7 separate regions of the Homo sapiens genome follow, and all the other regions are linked to region 1. Evidence: promoter capture Hi-C in 16 types of primary human blood cells and fetal thymus (Javierre and others, 2016). All regions are on one chromosome and are shown on one strand. Each heading gives the region's core, a stretch centred on a gene start or on the middle of the fragment in contact. The rest is flanking DNA. Distances are from core to core; before and after follow the strand shown. Region 1 holds the start of KBTBD8 (kelch repeat and BTB domain containing 8). Region 2 overlaps SUCLG2-DT (SUCLG2 divergent transcript). Region 3 overlaps SUCLG2-DT (SUCLG2 divergent transcript). Region 4 overlaps SLC25A26 (solute carrier family 25 member 26). Region 5 overlaps SLC25A26 (solute carrier family 25 member 26). Region 6 overlaps SLC25A26 (solute carrier family 25 member 26). Region 7 overlaps SLC25A26 (solute carrier family 25 member 26).

Evidence for each region. Contacts are between HindIII fragments. The CHiCAGO score rates a contact against its expected background, and 5 or more counts as called.
Region 2: a contact is called between a fragment that was not itself captured here and the fragment with the promoter of KBTBD8 in region 1, in 1 of 17 cell types (naive CD4 T cells). The highest score is 6.2, in naive CD4 T cells.
Region 3: a fragment that was not itself captured here is called in contact with the fragment with the promoter of KBTBD8 in region 1 in 1 of 17 cell types (total B cells); the score reaches 6.7 in total B cells.
Region 4: a contact is called between a fragment that was not itself captured here and the fragment with the promoter of KBTBD8 in region 1, in 9 of 17 cell types (fetal thymus, total B cells, monocytes and 6 more). The highest score is 26.1, in fetal thymus.
Region 5: a fragment that was not itself captured here is called in contact with the fragment with the promoter of KBTBD8 in region 1 in 2 of 17 cell types (fetal thymus and erythroblasts); the score reaches 7.9 in fetal thymus.
Region 6: a fragment that was not itself captured here is called in contact with the fragment with the promoter of KBTBD8 in region 1 in 2 of 17 cell types (fetal thymus and total B cells); the score reaches 5.3 in fetal thymus.
Region 7: a contact is called between a fragment that was not itself captured here and the fragment with the promoter of KBTBD8 in region 1, in 3 of 17 cell types (fetal thymus, total B cells and naive B cells). The highest score is 11.8, in fetal thymus.

Annotation. Positions count from the first base shown.
Region 1 is chr3:66,997,032-66,999,569 of GRCh38, forward strand. It overlaps KBTBD8 (kelch repeat and BTB domain containing 8), which reads left to right and starts at 1,276. Exons shown (of 4, transcript NM_032505.3): 1 at 1,276-1,340; 2 at 1,950-2,160. The coding sequence starts at 1,325. RefSeq lists an enhancer at 934-1,033 and a silencer at 1,374-1,693. The HindIII fragment of the contact is 2,180 bases long and covers 1,240-2,538 here.
Region 2 is chr3:67,940,442-67,942,979 of GRCh38, forward strand. All of the region lies in intron 6 of SUCLG2-DT (SUCLG2 divergent transcript), which reads left to right. Among named protein-coding and RNA genes, the nearest start is that of TAFA1, 63 kb to the right of the region's middle. The HindIII fragment of the contact is 1,299 bases long and covers 618-1,916 here.
Region 3 is chr3:67,789,753-67,792,290 of GRCh38, forward strand. All of the region lies in intron 3 of SUCLG2-DT (SUCLG2 divergent transcript), which reads left to right. Among named protein-coding and RNA genes, the nearest start is that of SUCLG2-DT, 140 kb to the left of the region's middle. The HindIII fragment of the contact is 1,924 bases long and covers 302-2,225 here.
Region 4 is chr3:66,226,240-66,228,777 of GRCh38, forward strand. The region is part of intron 1 of SLC25A26 (solute carrier family 25 member 26); the gene reads left to right. Among named protein-coding and RNA genes, the nearest start is that of SLC25A26, 6.5 kb to the left of the region's middle. The HindIII fragment of the contact is 7,505 bases long and covers 1-2,538 here.
Region 5 is chr3:66,252,200-66,254,737 of GRCh38, forward strand. The region is part of intron 3 of SLC25A26 (solute carrier family 25 member 26); the gene reads left to right. Among named protein-coding and RNA genes, the nearest start is that of SLC25A26, 32 kb to the left of the region's middle. The HindIII fragment of the contact is 469 bases long and covers 1,031-1,499 here.
Region 6 is chr3:66,271,425-66,273,962 of GRCh38, forward strand. All of the region lies in intron 5 of SLC25A26 (solute carrier family 25 member 26), which reads left to right. Among named protein-coding and RNA genes, the nearest start is that of SLC25A26, 52 kb to the left of the region's middle. The HindIII fragment of the contact is 948 bases long and covers 791-1,738 here.
Region 7 is chr3:66,295,823-66,298,360 of GRCh38, forward strand. All of the region lies in intron 5 of SLC25A26 (solute carrier family 25 member 26), which reads left to right. Among named protein-coding and RNA genes, the nearest start is that of SLC25A26, 76 kb to the left of the region's middle. The HindIII fragment of the contact is 1,135 bases long and covers 711-1,845 here.

The sequences.
Region 1 (2,538 bases), core at 26-2,525:
GAAGTTCAACGGTTTGATCTTTTCAGTGCTAGAAAAGTTATGCACACGGGCTAACTATATGTCTACTAGAAATTCTTCCCATTCGCTGATACTTCCTTACATTTTAACATCTAGAAATAGCATTCCCAATGTTAGCTCATTTGCACCTTACATTTATTTTTAAAATATGAAACATCTATAATGTGCCAGGCACCCCGTTAGATGTTAGAAACACAAGATGAGTAAATAAAAATTCGTCAACAGTAAAATTTTGATTTTCTTTCCAAAAGGTTGCAGCCTATGAAATCCATGGAGTACGGATTACTATTACTTCACGTTACAGATGAAGGATCTAAGCGCTCAGGGGTTGAAAGGTCTTATGTCAGTTCTCACATATAGTGACTAAAGAGCCAGGGCTTCAGTAATCATCCCTGGCTCCGGGCTCAGGGCATTCCGGTATTTTTTCAAAGGAAATTCCGGAATACTTAGTATTGTATCCCCTCCATTTCCCAAGAGCAAAAAGTAAAGCATCTTGGATCCCCTTGTAATGTTCACGTGAGGAACAGGTGTTCTCTGGGTGTGCTAGAAAAGCAAGGCACCAGTGGGAGTTGAAGATCCTAAGCAGCCGCTGTAACCAGACCAAGTTAATCTGTGGAAACCAGAGCACCCGGCCAAGGCGATGCTATTTCAATTGGGTGTCATAGGTGACTCATCAGAGACGCCTTGCTTTTGGGCCTTGTGATATTTTTCTTCAGGGTGGGACGTCAGATTTCCTTTGCATTTTTGGACAACAGCCCTCCTGTCCATTTCCACATTTTTCTGGTTTTACAGCTCTCACGCAGAGCTTGATTTCATACCGGAAGCTAGTCACTGGCAGGAAGTTTACGGAAGAAGAAAAAGGTAAAAAAATGTGCCGGGGGCCAGGAGAGAGGCCTAAAATGGGGAAATTCGCACTTGAAGAGCTTTCCCTACCCCAGCCCCTCAGAATGACAGTTCTCCTCCGCCAGAAGACTACCTCTCCCGGCAGGCACTGCGCGCTCGACGGCCACAGGCTGGCCAGCTCCCTGCTCTCCACCTCCATCCGAATCAGCCAATAGGAATTCCCGGCTTGGGCCTCCGCCCGACCCGGACCACGCGGGAGCCGGGGCAATCAAACTACATTTCCCGACACGCATGTGCTCGCGTCGTGGCCAATCAGCGCCAGGAATTCGGAGGCTAGGGGTGGAGCCAGATGCACAGGACACCCCATTGGCCAGGGGAAGCTTAGAAGAGCCGGAACCCGGGAGCTAGAGAAGCGAAATGACATTTCCTTTTTAAATAGCTGGAGTCGGGGCCCCATCGAGAAATGGCCGCGTCGGCAGGTGGGTCGTGTGGTGGCCAGGGCGGCGTGGAGGGAGGTGAGGGGGAAGGTGGGCCGGGGCCGGCCACAGGCAGTGGGATGAGGACGTAGCGGTGCGGAGCTAGAGGGAAGGATGAAGCGGTGGAGGGGAATGAGAAGAGGGAGGATGAATGGTGCGGAGGGCGGTGGGCGGTCCGGCGGGACCGGGATGGGGAGGCTGGGTACCCGCCGGCGCTGCGCCCCAGGAGGCAGCGGGAGGCGGCTTGAGGGGGCACCGGCGGCCGCCGTTGTTCGAGCTTCCCTCGTGAGGCTCTGCCCTCGGCTCTCGGCGGAGTCCGCGCAGACGCCTCTCCTGGGCTGCGAGCGCGTTTCCTCCGCGAGCACGGGTGCCGGGCTCGCCGGGCTCCGCAGGAGCAGGCTGGCCTTTGAACTTGTTCCGCCGATCGCGCTCCGCCCTCTGTCTCCCAGATCCTTAACTCGCGGTCCCACGAGGTCGTGCGTATATCCACAGACATTTGTATATATCTTGTAGGGGGAAAAAGCCTAGCAAGCAGACACACAAACAGAAAAATCCCGCGATGCCGTAACTGGCTCGGCACTTCTTGTAGTTGTACGATTTTTCTCCTCCTAGATTTAAGTAAGTCTTCCCCAACACCGAATGGGATTCCATCTTCAGACCCAGCCAGCGATGCCATGGACCCCTTCCATGCTTGCAGTATTCTTAAGCAACTCAAAACAATGTACGATGAAGGACAGTTGACAGACATTGTAGTGGAAGTGGATCACGGGAAAACATTTTCCTGTCATAGAAACGTTCTTGCTGCAATCAGCCCTTACTTCAGGTATGATGATGGTAGGAACTTCTGTTGGTATCTGCACCAAGCTCCCTTTCCCCCTCAGTATTGTCCACTTGATGTTTATATTGAGATGCGATAATGAAATGAAACCAATGACTTTGTTTCTTGAGACTAGAAAACAAGTCCTCTCTTAACTAAGACCTTCTTTTGACTTGAGGGATTCTTCTAGATTTCGGGTGATTGCTTTTTAAGTTAGTGGGCCTGTGTGTGTGTGTTTGAGGTAAATGACCAGAAAATCTAGACTTGTGCTGGTCAGTATGGAAGCCAGTAGCCATGTGTGGCTGTTTAAACTTAAATTATAAGTTAAATAAAATAAAACATTTAGTTCCCCAGGTACACTAAATACTTTTTGAGTGCTTGCTG
Region 2 (2,538 bases), core at 17-2,516, 940 kb after region 1:
AAATGCTAGTATGATTTCAGAAGAGACTTCCACAATATGGAGAAGTCACAATTTTCATCATTAGTTTAAACTAAGGCACCTTATCTCACTTCCTCTAAGTCACATAATTCTCATTTTATGTTAATAGAAGTTAAACCTAATTATCAAGGGGAGAGTAGATTTCTAAGTTATAGTTTCTTCTTGAAGAGTTATGAGTGTAACCTCCATTAACACTAGGCCATGTTAAAAAGGCAACTCTTTGAATGTTGGGATAAAAATACATCCCTCTAGTGGAGGGTTATATTTTATCTGTAACTGAGTAATTTGGACTCAAGTGACCTACATTGAGAAATAGGTTTAATAGTGAAAAGACTGTGGATTGATGGATCCCTGCCAGGCAGGAACTGAAAGTTCAGAGCATTAGCAGTAGCTGACAGAATATAGGACATGATGTTATTCCCAAAATTATCAGGAAGAGAAAATATAATAGAGAGGAAAAAATAGTGTGAGACGATTTCTACTCCCACCTCCCCGGATGTTCAAGCTAATGTTTCCTTAGATGAAGTTTTTGCATCAGATTTCACTTTTCAAAAAGTTCAGCCTTTTACAGACTCTCTCCCAGTGAGAAATAAACCGAAAGCTTTTGTTTATTTTTGTAGTGATCACTGTGTCCTCACTATATAATTCTCTGAAGCCCACTTGTTGGTATTCTAAGAAAATTTGCTGCCTCATATGAGATAAAACTAGCATACATGGTAATCTTCCAATATAAAGTTAAGAATGTGTCCTAGTCATCTTGCAAGCTAAGTGTCTCTAATAGCATTGCTTCTCCATGGAAACACTACTTTTGGGAGTAGGCTATCTTGGTTCTCTTCCTCTCTCCCTCCCTCCTCCTCCCCTCAACCTGCCTTTTTCCCCCTCTCCTTCCTCCTTTTCTTCCTTTTCTTCTGCCTCCCCCCCTTCTTCCTCCCACGTTAGTTCCCGTAACATTGCTGAAAAAAAATCTGTCCCAGATTTTAAGCACTTTGAAATTCTTATGTTAGGAAATGTATCCTGAATTTAATCTGATTATTAAAAAAGAACTGCAGATTTAATTTCTTATAATAACTTGCTACTATGTTATTGACTTTATATCTTCAGGATGTAGCTAAAGTCATCTAAAGTAGGTGGTATAGATGAAAAGAATAAAAAAACCAAAACCAAAACCAAACCAAACCCAAGCCATGTCTCTTCAATACATAATACAGACTAGAAACTGTTTCAGAAATTTAGAAACTACATCACTGATTTGTTTTTCTGTACTAGATGCTAAAAGGAATTTAGATGTGCTTGTGGTGCATCATTCTATTTTTAAAGGTGATTTCATGATGGGCAATCGTCGAGCCACAAATGTTCCTCTGAAAGATGCAGAATCCTGAGTTGGATAAACTTGGCTTCTGAGTAAGTGTGGCCTTGTTCTTTGAACACAGTACTTGCATCTGTAAGATCCCTGCCTGCATGATCTAATTATTTCTGGGCTTGGGGTCTATAAACCAGACATTCTGACACTTGGTTGCTGCTTTTCTCAGCATTTGGTTTTCTTTTAAGGTTGTAAATTGATCCCCCACGTAAGACAGTCTTAGGCAATACATGACTTCTTATTAAATAATGACTAATATCATTAAGACAATAAAATATTTCCATAAACAAATAATTAAACCCTTATAAGACCTAGGTCCAAATTGAAGTCCCATTCTCTCAGCCCTTTCAGGTTTTGGGACTGATTTTTTATTTAAATCAGTGACGACTGCAGGCTTAAGCATGTACTATAGGTCCATTAAACGTTGCTTCAAAGAGAGAGGGAAAGAAATGGCCTCTAATGATCCCCAACTTTCTGGCAATCATACCCTGTCAGTGAAAGGAATAAAAAAGTACTGAAAAGTGAATAGAAAATGTGAAGCTTTTAACAGTCTTCTATTTACTGGAGGACTGGCCGTTACCGTCACTCAACCATTAACCCCCGTATGCCTTGGCCTGGGAACATCTCATTTCAAATCTCTCTGCTTTAAAATCTATACATACCGATAATGAGTTCCAAGACAAACTGTAAAGTGCAAAGCATCAAGGAGGGGAGCAGGTAAACATACATGCAAATACACATGCATGTACAATATATATACAAAACAAATGGAGCATCTCTGGAAGCATACGTAACACACTGGCAATGATGACACTGCCTTTAAAATGGAACAGCGAAAGAAGATAAACTTAATTTTTCGGTATTTTTTTTTGTTTTTTGAGTTGGAGTCTCGCTCTGTCCCCCAGTCTGGAATGCAGTGGTGCCATCTCGGCTCACTGCAACCTATGCTTCTTGGGTTCAAGTGATTCTTCTGCCTCAGCCTCCCGAGTAGCTGGGACTACAGGCACATACCACCATGCCCAGCTAATTTTTTTGTATTTTTAGTAGAGATGGGGTTTCACCATATTGGCCAGGCTGGTCTCAAACTCCTGACCTCATGATCCGCCCACCTTGGCCTCCCAAAGTGCTGGGATTACAGGCATGAGGCACCGCACCCAACC
Region 3 (2,538 bases), core at 14-2,513, 790 kb after region 1:
GGTATCAATTTGTTAACCAATGTAAATTTCATAGTGGTGCAAGCAGGAAAGAGCTTTATTTTGTTTTTCCCCCCAACACGATCTTTAATTTCTTGCTCCTTAAAGCTATCTAATTGGAGCCCATGGCTGTTGGGAACCTTCAGTGATAACAATCATTTCATTTGGATAGTTGTCTTAATTTGGATTTCCCCTGAAATGATCTTGAGAGAAGAATATGGGTGCAGTTAGTCTATCTGGAAAGTGGGTGCAGGTAGTACAAGTGAAGAAAAGAGGAAAAGAGGAAAAAATAAAAACCAACAAAAGCTTTAGAGCAGGTCATTACTATGGGTAACTGGGGCTCCATCTCTCTGAAATACCACGTGGAAGATACCTTGGAACATTCTCTTTGGAAGAAGGGGATGTAGGAGTGCTGTTGGTTCCCCAAGTGGATCCTCTTGTCTGCTCTATTGCACACATCCCCCATTACCCTGAGCATTGAATGGCTCACTGCTGCCCCCTGCTCCTTCTCCTGAGAATTGTTTTTAGTTTAGCCCACTCTCACTCCAGTTGCCAAGAGCGGATGAATGACAGAGACACATAAGGCCAGCCCTTTGCCTCAATAGGAGATGATTCTGATGGGTAATTTAAGCTACAGAGCCCTTTTCTACCCATGAATCTGGCTAGATGGACCTGTGATCTCACACTAGCTTGGCTCTTTTTTCTTCCCTCTTCTGTTTTATTCCCTCCTTTTACTGGTTTCTCCTGAGGCATCTCTATCACTAAAACTCATGCATGTGAATTTCTGTCTCAATCTGTGCTTCTAGGGAACTTGACATAAGTCAGGGCAATTATTTAATTATGCTCATCTCCCACTGCTTGAGGATTTGGAGGCACTGACTAGCTGCTGCCTTTGTGGTTCACACCACAGCTTATTTCTGTTGCGGGCTCATTGCTCCCTTCATGGAGTGATATTGGGTGTGGCCCCATCAGGTTGGTCTGAGACAGGTGAAGATTCTTGGTATACAGGAGACTTGTCATGCTTGCTGTGTAGACAGTCTCCACTGTTGCCCTCTCCTCTCCCTGTTATTGGTGTTGTCTGCAGCCAGTTTACCATCTTCAGATGGTAAACTCAGAAAACCTCAGAAAGGAAGTAAATAGCAGCTTCTTGTTTTGCTTATGCTCCCATAGTTAAGGAATACATGTAAACCTCCTTCAAGAATTCTGCCACCGAGTTCTGTCTTGGGGAATGGGGATAGGTTGGGGAACACTAACATGTTTTTCTGTCCACCCGCAAGCAGGCTGCCAGGGAATGAAACCTTAATCTACCCATCTGATAATCAGCCTTCGTTCACTTCATGGAAATGCCCTAACTTGGTTTGTGCAATAGCCACTCAGCCAACAATTTCCTGATTCAACAATCTCTCTTAACTCTAGTCTTCTGCCTATATGAGCTGGATGAGATGATGGGGGTGTGGGTAAAATGACCAATTTGGCCACCTTCTTTTTTAAATATGAGGTTTTCTATAGTCTCTTGGGACTTTGGGACTTTAGTTGGTTTCCAGAAGGAACAGAAAGCATTTTAATATTATTTTATAGATGTAAATTAAAACTTAGATGCTCACCAAGTGGTAGCTCTTAGTTTAATTACAAAATTAGTCTCTGGAATGTTTGAAAAGTCATTGTTTCTTAGTGTTTTCTTTAATAAGGTGACTTAGCATATTTAATAAAAAAGACCACAGGCCTGAGAAGTAGGAGACCTGGGTCATCATGCTTTTAGCTCTGTGACATTTTTAAATAATTTCACCTTCCAACAGCCAATACGTAGGATAATAAAAGTTGTTTAACATATCCCACAGGTTGTTGTAAGTCTGAAATGAAGGAAAACACCCAAAACATATTTGAAAGCAAAAGATAATGAAATGTCAGTTAATAATTAATAAAGTAACTCAATGTTAAGGGAGCCTATCAAAAGGCAATTTCTCCTTTCCTTCAGAGACGCTCACACCGATCCAACAAGCCGCCGTGACTGAGACCTGACTCGTTTTTGGCAAACAGATGCCACTCTAAATGATGACAAAGTGATAAACCTATGTAAATATTTCATATGGAAGCAAAGTCAATATGGACAAATGTGAAAGACATGATTCCAAGACTGGAATGCCAGGCTATGCATAGACACAGCAAAAAACAATGTGGATATTGGAGTAGATCATAAGCTGAAAACAAACCCCATGCTGTTATTTAAAAGCTTACCAGAAACCCCTAAAAGGCATGGGCCAGGCATAATTTTGTCATTCTTCCCTAACCTCATCATGTCATATGCTGTCAATTGGGTGAGGCACAGTGTAGAAAAAAGTGTCCTGTGTTCTAATTCCTGCTCCTCCTGACCTTGGATTTGATGCTTCCTTCTCCTTGTTCTTTGATGGTCAAGGTGTCATGGTAATGTGTATCTCTGTTCAAAGAATAGTTATAGATGATATGAGATAGTGTATGTGAAAGTGTTTTGGAAAAGATAGTTATTCTGTAGAGGTATAAGGTAATATTAAACAAGTGATAAAA
Region 4 (2,538 bases), core at 14-2,513, 770 kb before region 1:
CAAAGTCACGTCTTACATGGCTGCAGATGAGAGCGTATGCAGGAGAACTCCCCTTTATGAGATCATCAGATCTTGTGAGACTTATTCACTATCACCAGAACAGAATGGGAAAGACCTGCCACCATGATTCAATTACCTCCCACCAGGCCCCTCCCACAACATGTGGGAATTATGGGAGCTACAATTCAAGATGAGATTTGGTTGGGGACCCAGAGCCAAACCATTTCATGTGCGTTCTTTTCTTTTTTTTTTGAGACAAGGTCTTCCTCTGTTGCCCAGGCTGGAGTGCAGTGGTGCTGTCTCTGCTCAAGTGATCCTCCCACCTCAGCCTCCTGAGTAGCTGGGACTAGAGGCATGCACCAACCACGCCTGGCTAATTTTTTAATTAAAAATTTTCTTGTTTTGTAGAGACAGGGTCTTGCTGTGTTGCCAGGGCTGGTTTTGAAGTACTGGCCTCAAGCAATCCTCCTGACTCAGCTTCAAAGTGCTGAGATTACAGGCATGAGCCACTGAGCCCAGCCCATGTTGTTCTTACAGTTTTTAGAAAATTTTTTTTGTAGAAAGAGGTGTCACAGGTATGAGCCACCACACCTGGCCCACCCTAAGAATTTTTGTCAAAACATTAAAAACGCTTTGGTTGTAATATATAGGGGAAAAATTGCAAAGCTGATGTTTATTTAGTACACTGTAATTAAAAACATTAGAAACATTAATAACTTAATTTTTTGGACAAAACCTTATCAACAGTAGTTTGAACATTTGCTTGTGTTCTCATTATGTATTATAGAAGAAGCATCTTTTTATGCCTTGGCAAGTTGTCATACTGCTTTCTCAGTTTGGATCAACTTCTAACATTTTATTTTTTGTGCTTTCAATGTTGTGAGTTCGTTTAATGCGAAGACTTGCTGACATAACTTAGTCTGGGACATTTTCATCCTTTTCATCACAACTACTTTCCTTATTTATGTTAAATTTGCTCTCACTTATTTTTTCTAGTTACTTATCTAGATTAATGACAGCAGTGTGAATATTTCCATGGCCAGCTGTTTGTTCTCTAATACCATTTATGTCTGATTTTTGTTTAACTTTGTGTTACCACTTTTCATTTTTTTTGCATTTTCATCTTTGTTCATCAGTTTTCTGTCTATTTTTATAAAATGTCGTGTGCATTTATTACTGGGAGATGAGGTAACAACTATTTGCTGTCTGTGCGTAAACTGAGTAATAGGCAGTGATTTCTGTTAATTGTATTGTGATTTGTGGACTGAACAAGTGGTGAAGTTTACACTTTATCCAGTTACTCATAGTTAATATGCTGTGGTAACTGAAATTTGACCTGGGTCATTGGGAGATTCATGTTATTTAAGTAAATCATGGTAACTGAAATTCATGTATGTAGGTACCATGCAAAGTGAGGACCGCTTGTAGTTTTTGTTTTCCTGTTTTTAGTGAGGTGATTTTTGGCTGGTGCTGTCATCTGGGGAGCTTTTTCGTGATACTTGGGTGTCTTCTCACTGGACCTGCCCTTCTGCTGAGAACCACCTTACAGGCAGTAGGATACTTGAGGGGAACAATGTGGGTTATGATGGCAGGGGTTCTTGGGTGGAGTGAAGAAAGGTAATACGAATGAAGTATTGGGTATACTATTAAAAGAGGTTTTCTGTTTTGTTGTTTTTCTTGTTTTGCCTCTTATCTTTTCTGGATAGTGACCTCCTAGTTTTCAATTTGGAGTAAAGGGCATCTTTAAAGATTATCTCCAAATTTATAAAAAATTGAGAATTATGCTTCTCTTTCTCAGGACTTGTGTGACTTGTTTATTTTTGGCATTTACGTCAGAGTGAGCAGGTCTTCCCTTTTTGCTTGCTTTTGTGTTGAGCAAGAAATTATCTAAACACAAGTATATTCCAAATTTTGCTCAGCCCGTGGAGCATGCAAAGCACTGCTTGGAGAGCACCAATCATGCAAGGACCACAACTGATAACCACCACTGTGATGGAGGCATTTTTTTGTGCATCTCTACTACCCACAGATGGGACTACCTTTCTTTTTTCATTTTTCTTTCTGTTTAAGAAAGGCATACTTGGAAAGTTTTAGTATTTGATAACTTAGCTGTAAGTGACTTGTTAATGTGGTTTTGTTACCACTTCCAAACCCTACTACTACATGTTGAAAGTTGCTCTAAATATTAAATCTTTTGTAATACAGACAAAATTTGGGTAACATTAATTAAATTCCAAATAAAGGAAAGATAAAAGTTACACCCACAGTTATCTCACCTCCCCAAATCAGGTGTCTTTTACATGCTTAACCAGATACATTTGTTGGCCTTTGCTGTGTTATTTGGGGTTGAATGCCTGAAAAATATGGTCCCCCACCTTCAGGGATTTAGAGTCTAGTAGGAGGCAGATGCTAAACGAAACTTAATTATATAATTCCAAGTGGTGGTAACACTTAACTGTTTACTGAGCACTTTAAAAGTGCTTATGCAACTTTTTCATAGCTGAGGTCATATAGGTATAATTTTATATTCTACTTTAA
Region 5 (2,538 bases), core at 15-2,514, 740 kb before region 1:
TTGCCTTGTTAAGATTAGGGTTCTTGAATTAAATGCAACTGTCACTTATTTGCTTTGGTTTGTGATTGTGTGCTTTTCAATATTTGAGTTGTATAGCTAATACTATTAATAGGTGCTAAGAGACACCGAATAAGAAATTTGATCCCCGTTTTTGAGGAGCATATAAGTAAGTTGGATCCATCTGTTAAATAACTAGGGAGTATTTGAGGATGTCTGTAGGGAGGTAGCAAGGTATGGACCATGGGCTGTCAAGTTACACAGATCGGGGTCAGATTTGTGACTTGTCCACTTATTTGTCTGTAGGCCATTTACTTGCCTTCACTGAAATGCTCTTTTCCTCATCTTGAAAAAATAGGATTAATGCCATCCCAGTCACAGTTCTTACAAGGATGAAATTATACAGCACTTAACAAAGTGTCCAGCCTAGCATCTGACACACAAAATATTGAATAAACATTGGGTCTAGCCCCATTTCACACAAGTTGCTGAATGCGGCACGTTTTTAGAATTTCCTAGTTTTGGGAAAGGTATCTATTCAGAAGGTGAAAAAATTGAAATTCAAAGAAGTTTAGTGATGTGCTCCAAGTTTCCCAGCTATTATTATTCCCAGCTAATAATAAAACACCACTGTAGAATAAGTAATTAGATAAATATTTCTCTGTATACTTCCAGGAGCACCTCTGTTTTCTTTTTCATGTAGTATTTAAAAAATGGCAGAAGTAGCGGTAAGTATACTACTTGTGCAGTAAGGATTCACATCACTGGTTTCTTAAAAGGTCAGGTTCCAAAATTTGCCGTTGGTTACTGTGATAGGCAAAATAATGCCCCCCCCCCCCCATAAATATGTCCTAGTCCCCAAATCTCTGAATGTGTTTCTTCACACGGGAAAGAGATTTGGCAGATAATATTAAGAATGTTGAGATGGGGGCCGGGCGCAGTGGCTCATGCCTGTAATCCCAGCACTTTGGGAGGCTAAGGCGGGCGGATCGTGAGGTCAGGAGATCAAGACCGTCCTGGCTAACACGGTGAAAGCTTGTCTCTAAAAAAAAAAGCAAAAAAAAGTTAGTCGGGCATGGTGGTGGACGCCTGTAGTCCCAGCTACTCGGGAGGCTGAGGCAGGAGAATGGGGTGAACTTGGGAGGTGGAGCTTGCAGATCGCGCCACTGCACTCCAGCCTGGGTGACAGAGTGAGACTCCATCTCAAAAAAAAAAAAAAAATGTTGAGGTGGAAAGAGTTTTCTGGATTATCCACGTGGGCCCAGTCTAATCAGTAGGGTCCTTAGGAGAGGGGAGCGGGGGTCAGAGAGCTGAAGATGGTATACTGCTGGTCCAAAGATAGAGCGAGGGGCCACAAACCAAGGAGTGCAGGGGAGCCCTAGAAAGCAGGAAGTCAACATTCCCTTGCAGCTTCCAGAAGGCATACTGCCTGACTGACATCTCTCGGTCTTAGCTCAGGAAGACCCATTTTGGAATTCATACCTTCAGAATTATAGATAATAAGCTTATGTTTTAAGCCACTAAATGTGTGGTGATTTGTCAGAGCAGCAGTAGGAAGCAAATACAGTCACCATTGCCACCTCCTCAACGTTCAGATTTTTGTATTGGTGGGAATCTATAAATCCATCCATGGGATGTTTGTCACCTCCTGTGAAATCATGGCTCATTTCTGTTATGGAAAAATACAAAAGCAAAAAAGCCATTTGAGGCTTATCTTTTGGGTTGTATAAAATTCTGTGAACAAATTGTAGACACAGGGACTAAGTGTTGATAGAGTTATTTTCTTTGAGAAGACTTCCTTGTGTAGTCTGTATTACCCGTGACAGCAGTCTTGTCAGGCGAGGGAAGACTAATACCTACAACGATTGAACTTATTTGCGTGATTGGAAAGAGTCTTATAAGGGGGAAAGGTTTGATGAACATAGGTCCCAATGCAAGTAGGTAAAAATTAAAATCTAAGGAGTGTAAGTTAGGATTTGTAAATTGGTTTTGTCAACAGCTGTAATTCCATTTATCAACAGAAGATGGCAGACTTGACACACAAATGAACTGTTGTAGAGGTTTTTGATTTTTTAAATGATGGTATAGAAAGAGATGTAAAATATTCTTAATTGGAAACCTGCTTTCTAAAGAGAATTTTGGGAATTACAAAGAGAATGTGGAAATGAAATACACGTAAGCAAATTGCATTTCAAAAATCTTCATAGTTTCCAGGGGTCTCTCCCTGACCCCCTGTCTTACTAATTTGCCACTTTGAGTTTGCTCTGGAAAGTCCAAAGCAGCTTTTGCTTTGAATACGATGAAGCTTTGAGTGGCTCTGTTCAGTGTATTGTTAAATTTCTGTTGAATTGGTTATAGAGTTGCCTGTTGAAACATGAAGCATTAGCTGAAATTAAACCTTGAACCTCTAAGTGCATTAGATGTGTGTAAGTATGACATCTTTATTGAAAAATAATTCTGGAGATGATAGTCAGAACACTTGGGTTTCACCCATGCTTCCTGAGCTAAGTAGCTCTCTGACCTTCAGCAACTTCTATGATC
Region 6 (2,538 bases), core at 15-2,514, 730 kb before region 1:
TGGCTGTTCTGCTTTCAGGCATCATAGTTCTATTCCAGAACTATGAAGAAGGGGAAGGGCATGAGGCAGTACTAACTTTATCTGTCCTTTTGTTTATCTCGAAAACAAAAACTTTCCTGGGACAGATGGTATCTCAGGGCCTTTATGAGTTGCGTGGGGATTGGGAAGTTGAGTATGTAGCTTTTCACTGTAGTAGATGAAGTCAGGCAAAGGGTGGACTGGGGGCAGTGGTACTACCGTTACTGAGTCACCCCATAGGATCTGCCGTATTCTGTCCCTTCAAACCCTTCCAGCTAAAGTTTCATCTCTTCAGAAAGAAGACCATTTCATACATCTCTAGCTTCAGCCCACATGTGGGCATCCATCGTTGTTAAGATCCATGAGTAATTGTCTGTACCACTATTTTTTTTTTTGGTCATTCTCCTCTGTAAATGGAAATGTCTGTTCGTTTTCTTTTTCTGCCACCTTTGTTCTTTTGGGCACTAGTGTAGAAACTCATCTTTAAAAATTATTTGGTGGTCTCACTGAAATTGAAGACATGAATTTACTTCTGATTTATTTACTTTTATATGTAGTTTTGATTTTAAAGTTAAAATCTGAGAATACTTCTTATATTGATATATTCATATGTAAACACCTAAAAAATGTGTGTCATTTTAGATGGAAATAAACTGTTTACATTTACCAAGTACTTAAAATGTTCCAGTCACTGTGCTAAGTTGTTTACATACATTATTTCACATAATCCTCACAGCAGCCCAAAATGCGATCCCTACTTGACAGAAACTAAAGCTTGGTAAGTTTGTGGTTGGCCCAGGGTCTCATACCAGTAAGGGAGAGATCAGAGGACTCCAGAATCCATGAACTTAACCTTTATGGTGAGCTGTGTATTTTACATTTTATAAACAGATAAATTTTTTCTGGGGAGGAAAATATGTATTTAAAATGAGTAATCCATATTTATATCTGTAGTCTTTAAGCCTTTAGATAGGCGTTAGTGCCAGGAGTTTGGGGAAACTGGAAGTCTACATGATATTAAAAATAAATTAATTAGAGGAAATAAGCAAGTGTAAGGAATCTGTGTTGATGGAAGTGTTCATGAAGAACTGTGGCTTGTAAGTGCATATTATCACGTTTGCGTGATTTTCCTTTATCTAGGTGTTAGTTTACATGCCCCTTCTCTGAGGGACCTCCTGTGATCACTCCAGCTAAAATAGACCTACCCCATCCCTGATCACTCACCTGTTACCTTTGCATGCACTGATGTTTGAAATTACCTTCATTTCTTGTTCAAAAATTAATTACTGCTGCAAACAGGGACAATTTGACTTCCTCTCTTCCTATTTGAATACCCTTTATTTGTTTCTCTTGCCTAATTGCCCTGGCCAGAACTTCCAACACTGTGTTGAATAGGAGTGGTGAGAGAGGGCATCGCTGTCTTGTGCCAGTTTTCAAAGGGAGTGCTTCCAGTTTTTGCCCATTCAGTATGATATTGGCTGTGGGTTTGTCATAGATAGCTCTTATTATTTTGAGATAAGTCCCATCAATACCTAATTTATTGAGAGTTTTTAGCATGAAGGGTTTTTGAATCTTGTCAAAGGCCTTTTCTGCATCTGTTGAGATAACCATGTGGTTTTTGTCTTTGGTTCTGTTTATATGCTGGATTACATTTATTGATTTGTGTATATTGGAGCAGCCTTGCATCCCAGGGATGAAGCCCACTTGATCATGGTGGATAAGCTTTTTGGTGTGCTGCTGGATTCGGTTTGCCAGTATTTTATTGAGGATTTTTGCGTCAATGTGCATCAAGGATATTGGTCTAAAATTCTCTTTTCTGGTTGTATCTCTGCCTGGCTTTGGTATCAGGATGATGCTGGCCTCATAAAATGAGTTAGGGAGGATTCCCTTTTTCTATTGATTGGAATAGTTTCAGAAGGAATGGTACCAGTTCCTCCTTGTACCTCTGGTAGAATTCGGCTGTGAATCCATCTGGTCCTGGACTCTTTTTGGTTGGTAAGCTATTATTGCCACAATTTCAGATCCTGTTATTGGTCGACATGATTGTATATCTAGAAAACCCCATTGTCTCAGCCCAAAGTCTCCTTAAGCTGATAAGCAACTTCAGCAAAGTCTCAGGATACAAAATCAATGTACAAAAATCACAAGCATTCTTATACACCAATAATAGACAGAGAGCCAAATCATGAGTGAACTCCCATTCACAATTGCTTCAAAGAGAATAAAATACTTAGGAATCTAGCTTACAAGGGACGTGAAGGACCTCTTCAAGGAGAACTACAAAGCACTGCTCAATGAAATAAAAGAGGATACAAACGAATGGAAGAACATTCCATGCTCATGGATAGGAAGAATCAATATCGTGAAAATGGCCATACTGCCCAAGGTAATTTTTAGATTCAATGCCATCCCCATCAAGCTACCAATGACTTTCTTCACAGAATTGGAAAAAACTACTTTAAAGTTCATATGGAACCAAAAAAGAGCCCGCATCGCCAAGTCAGTCCTAAGCCAAAAGAA
Region 7 (2,538 bases), core at 28-2,527, 700 kb before region 1:
TTAAATTCCATTTCTTGTCTGGGCACGGTGGCTCACGCCTGTAATCCCAGCTTTGGGAAGCCGAGATGGGTGGATCACGAGGTCAGGAGTTCGAGACCAGCCTGACCAACATGGTGAAACCTCATCTTTAATAAAAATACAAAAATTAGCTGGGCATGGTGGCAGGCACCTGTAATCCCAGCTACTCAGGAGGCTGAGGCAGGAGAATAGCTTGAACCCGGGAGGCGGAGGTTGCAATGAGCCGTGATCGCACCATTGCACTGCAGCCTGGGTGGCAGAGCAAGACTCCGTCTTGGAAAATAAAAAAAAAATTTCTTAAAGAATTGGAGCCATCAAAGTTGGCAAGCATTAAGCATGCTAATTAGTTCAACATACTGACCAATTCTCTGAATTATTAGTTCAAAGAAGCATGTGGACAGGGATGAAATTAAATTTGGGAATTTTTCACTCTAGTTGTTTTAGGATACTCAGGTTTGCTTTGATCTGTAAATAACAGATGCTTTTCCATGCATGGTTTAGAGTACATCAAACATGTTCAAAACTTTATCTCAGATACTTAAAATCAAGTTATTTTATTTTCCTGATATACATGCATTTGCTTTATTTTTAAAAATAAACTGTCATAAAATAGTTGTAAGGCCATACATAAAATTTACTTTATTAATTGCTAAAATATATTGCTTATTTAAATAATCAGTTTTAAGAGTAAAAGCTTTGGCAACTATGAAAGCATAGGGAGTATGTGTTCATATGTGAATGTATTGTGTGTGTATGCATAGTATACTTTTAGGTATCTAAGTAGTGAAGATAAATGTCTGCTTTACTTTTATTAGCTAAATATTATATTTAACTTAATAATTATTTAATCACTAGAATGAAAATAAAACTTTGAACAGAAGCATTGTTTTTAACTTAAGTTTCATAGTTTACTACCTCTTTTGGCTCTTAACCATAATTTTAGTACTGGGAAGAATTTTTTTAACGAATGGCATAAAATGGATTGCAGATGGGATGAGAAAGGTGCAGGACCAAGAGGGTAAGAACTGAGAAGTCCTCGATTCTGTTTTCCACACTCCCTGAACAGAAGGCTTGACTGGCGTAGGCCCTGCTCCAACCTAGTGTAGGCTGCAGGAAGCCATGTGACAAGAGTCCAGATTGTTGTCCAATGGTGGAAGCCTCCCATTTATAAGTAATAATAAGAATAAGAATGTTTGGCATTGAGCGAGGTGCGGTGGCTCACGCCTGTAATCCCAGCACTTTGGGAGGCTGAGGCGGGTGGATCACCTGAGGTCAGAAGTTCAAAACCAGCCAGGCCAACATGATGAAACCCCTATCTCTATTAAAAATACAAAAAAAATAGCTGGGCATGGTTGTGGGTGCCTGTAATCCCAGCTATTCGGGAGGCTGAGGCAGGAGAATTGCTTGAATCCGGGAGGTGGAGGTTGCAGTGAGCCAAGATCGTGCCATTGCCCTCCAGCCTGGTCAACAACAGTGAAACTCCATCTCAAAAAAAAAAAAAAAAAAAAGAATGTCTGGCATTAATTCTAGAACTGAGATGCTCTTTTGCTTAGTAAAGTCATTTTTTCTTTTTGATCATTAAGCTACATGAGGTTTTGTAATGCATTCCATTTGTGGCTGTTCTTTATCAAAATATTACTATAACAGTAGCTTCCTTAGTACATCAGACATCAGGACACTGAAGGTCTAGTTGCAGTTTTGCCACTCGCTATCTTGTGCCTTTTGAAGTTGTTTAATCTCTCTGGGTATTGATTTCCTTTTTTAAAAAATAGTTGGTAAACTATGACCTGTGGGCCTAATCCAGATCACAGCCTGTTTTTGTAATAAAGCTTTATTGGCATGCAGCCACTTTCTTTCATTTATGTATTGTCTGTCTGCTTTCACACAACAGTGGCAGAGTTGAGTAGTTGTAACAGAGACTGTATGGACCATAAAGCCTAAGCTATTTATTATCTGACTCTTTACAGAAAAAGTTTTCTGAATCCTAGACTAGATCATCTTTGAGGGCTGTGCTGTGCCTTAGATTAGATTTCCTTTTTGTCAATTTCTCTTTAATTCTAAGTTCTCAAAAGATGTCTGTCTTTAAAGGATATAGCATATCATTTCCTCGTTATCAAATTTGCAAATTATGAAAAGAAGGAAAATACTGAGTAGATCATTGGTTCCCAAAGTACAGTCCCTCCACGAATAGCAGCTGCATTCCCTAGGAACTTGCTAGAAATGCAGAATCTAAGTCCCCACTTGAGATCTTCTGAATCAGAAACTTGGGGTGAGGCCCAGAATTTGTGTTATACACCCTCTGCATGATTCTGATGCATTCTGAAGTGTGAGAACCACTGGACTAGGTGATACAAAGTTCAGTTAACAGATTTTCTTCTGTTTTGAAAAAAAGAAGAGCTTAAATACCAAAACCATTTGATAGGTATATCAGGAGGAAAATGAAATGTTGGATATTATTACTAAGCTGGTGAAATTAATATTTTCTCTAGTAAAACTCCTTGTCATAAATTGTGGATAAGT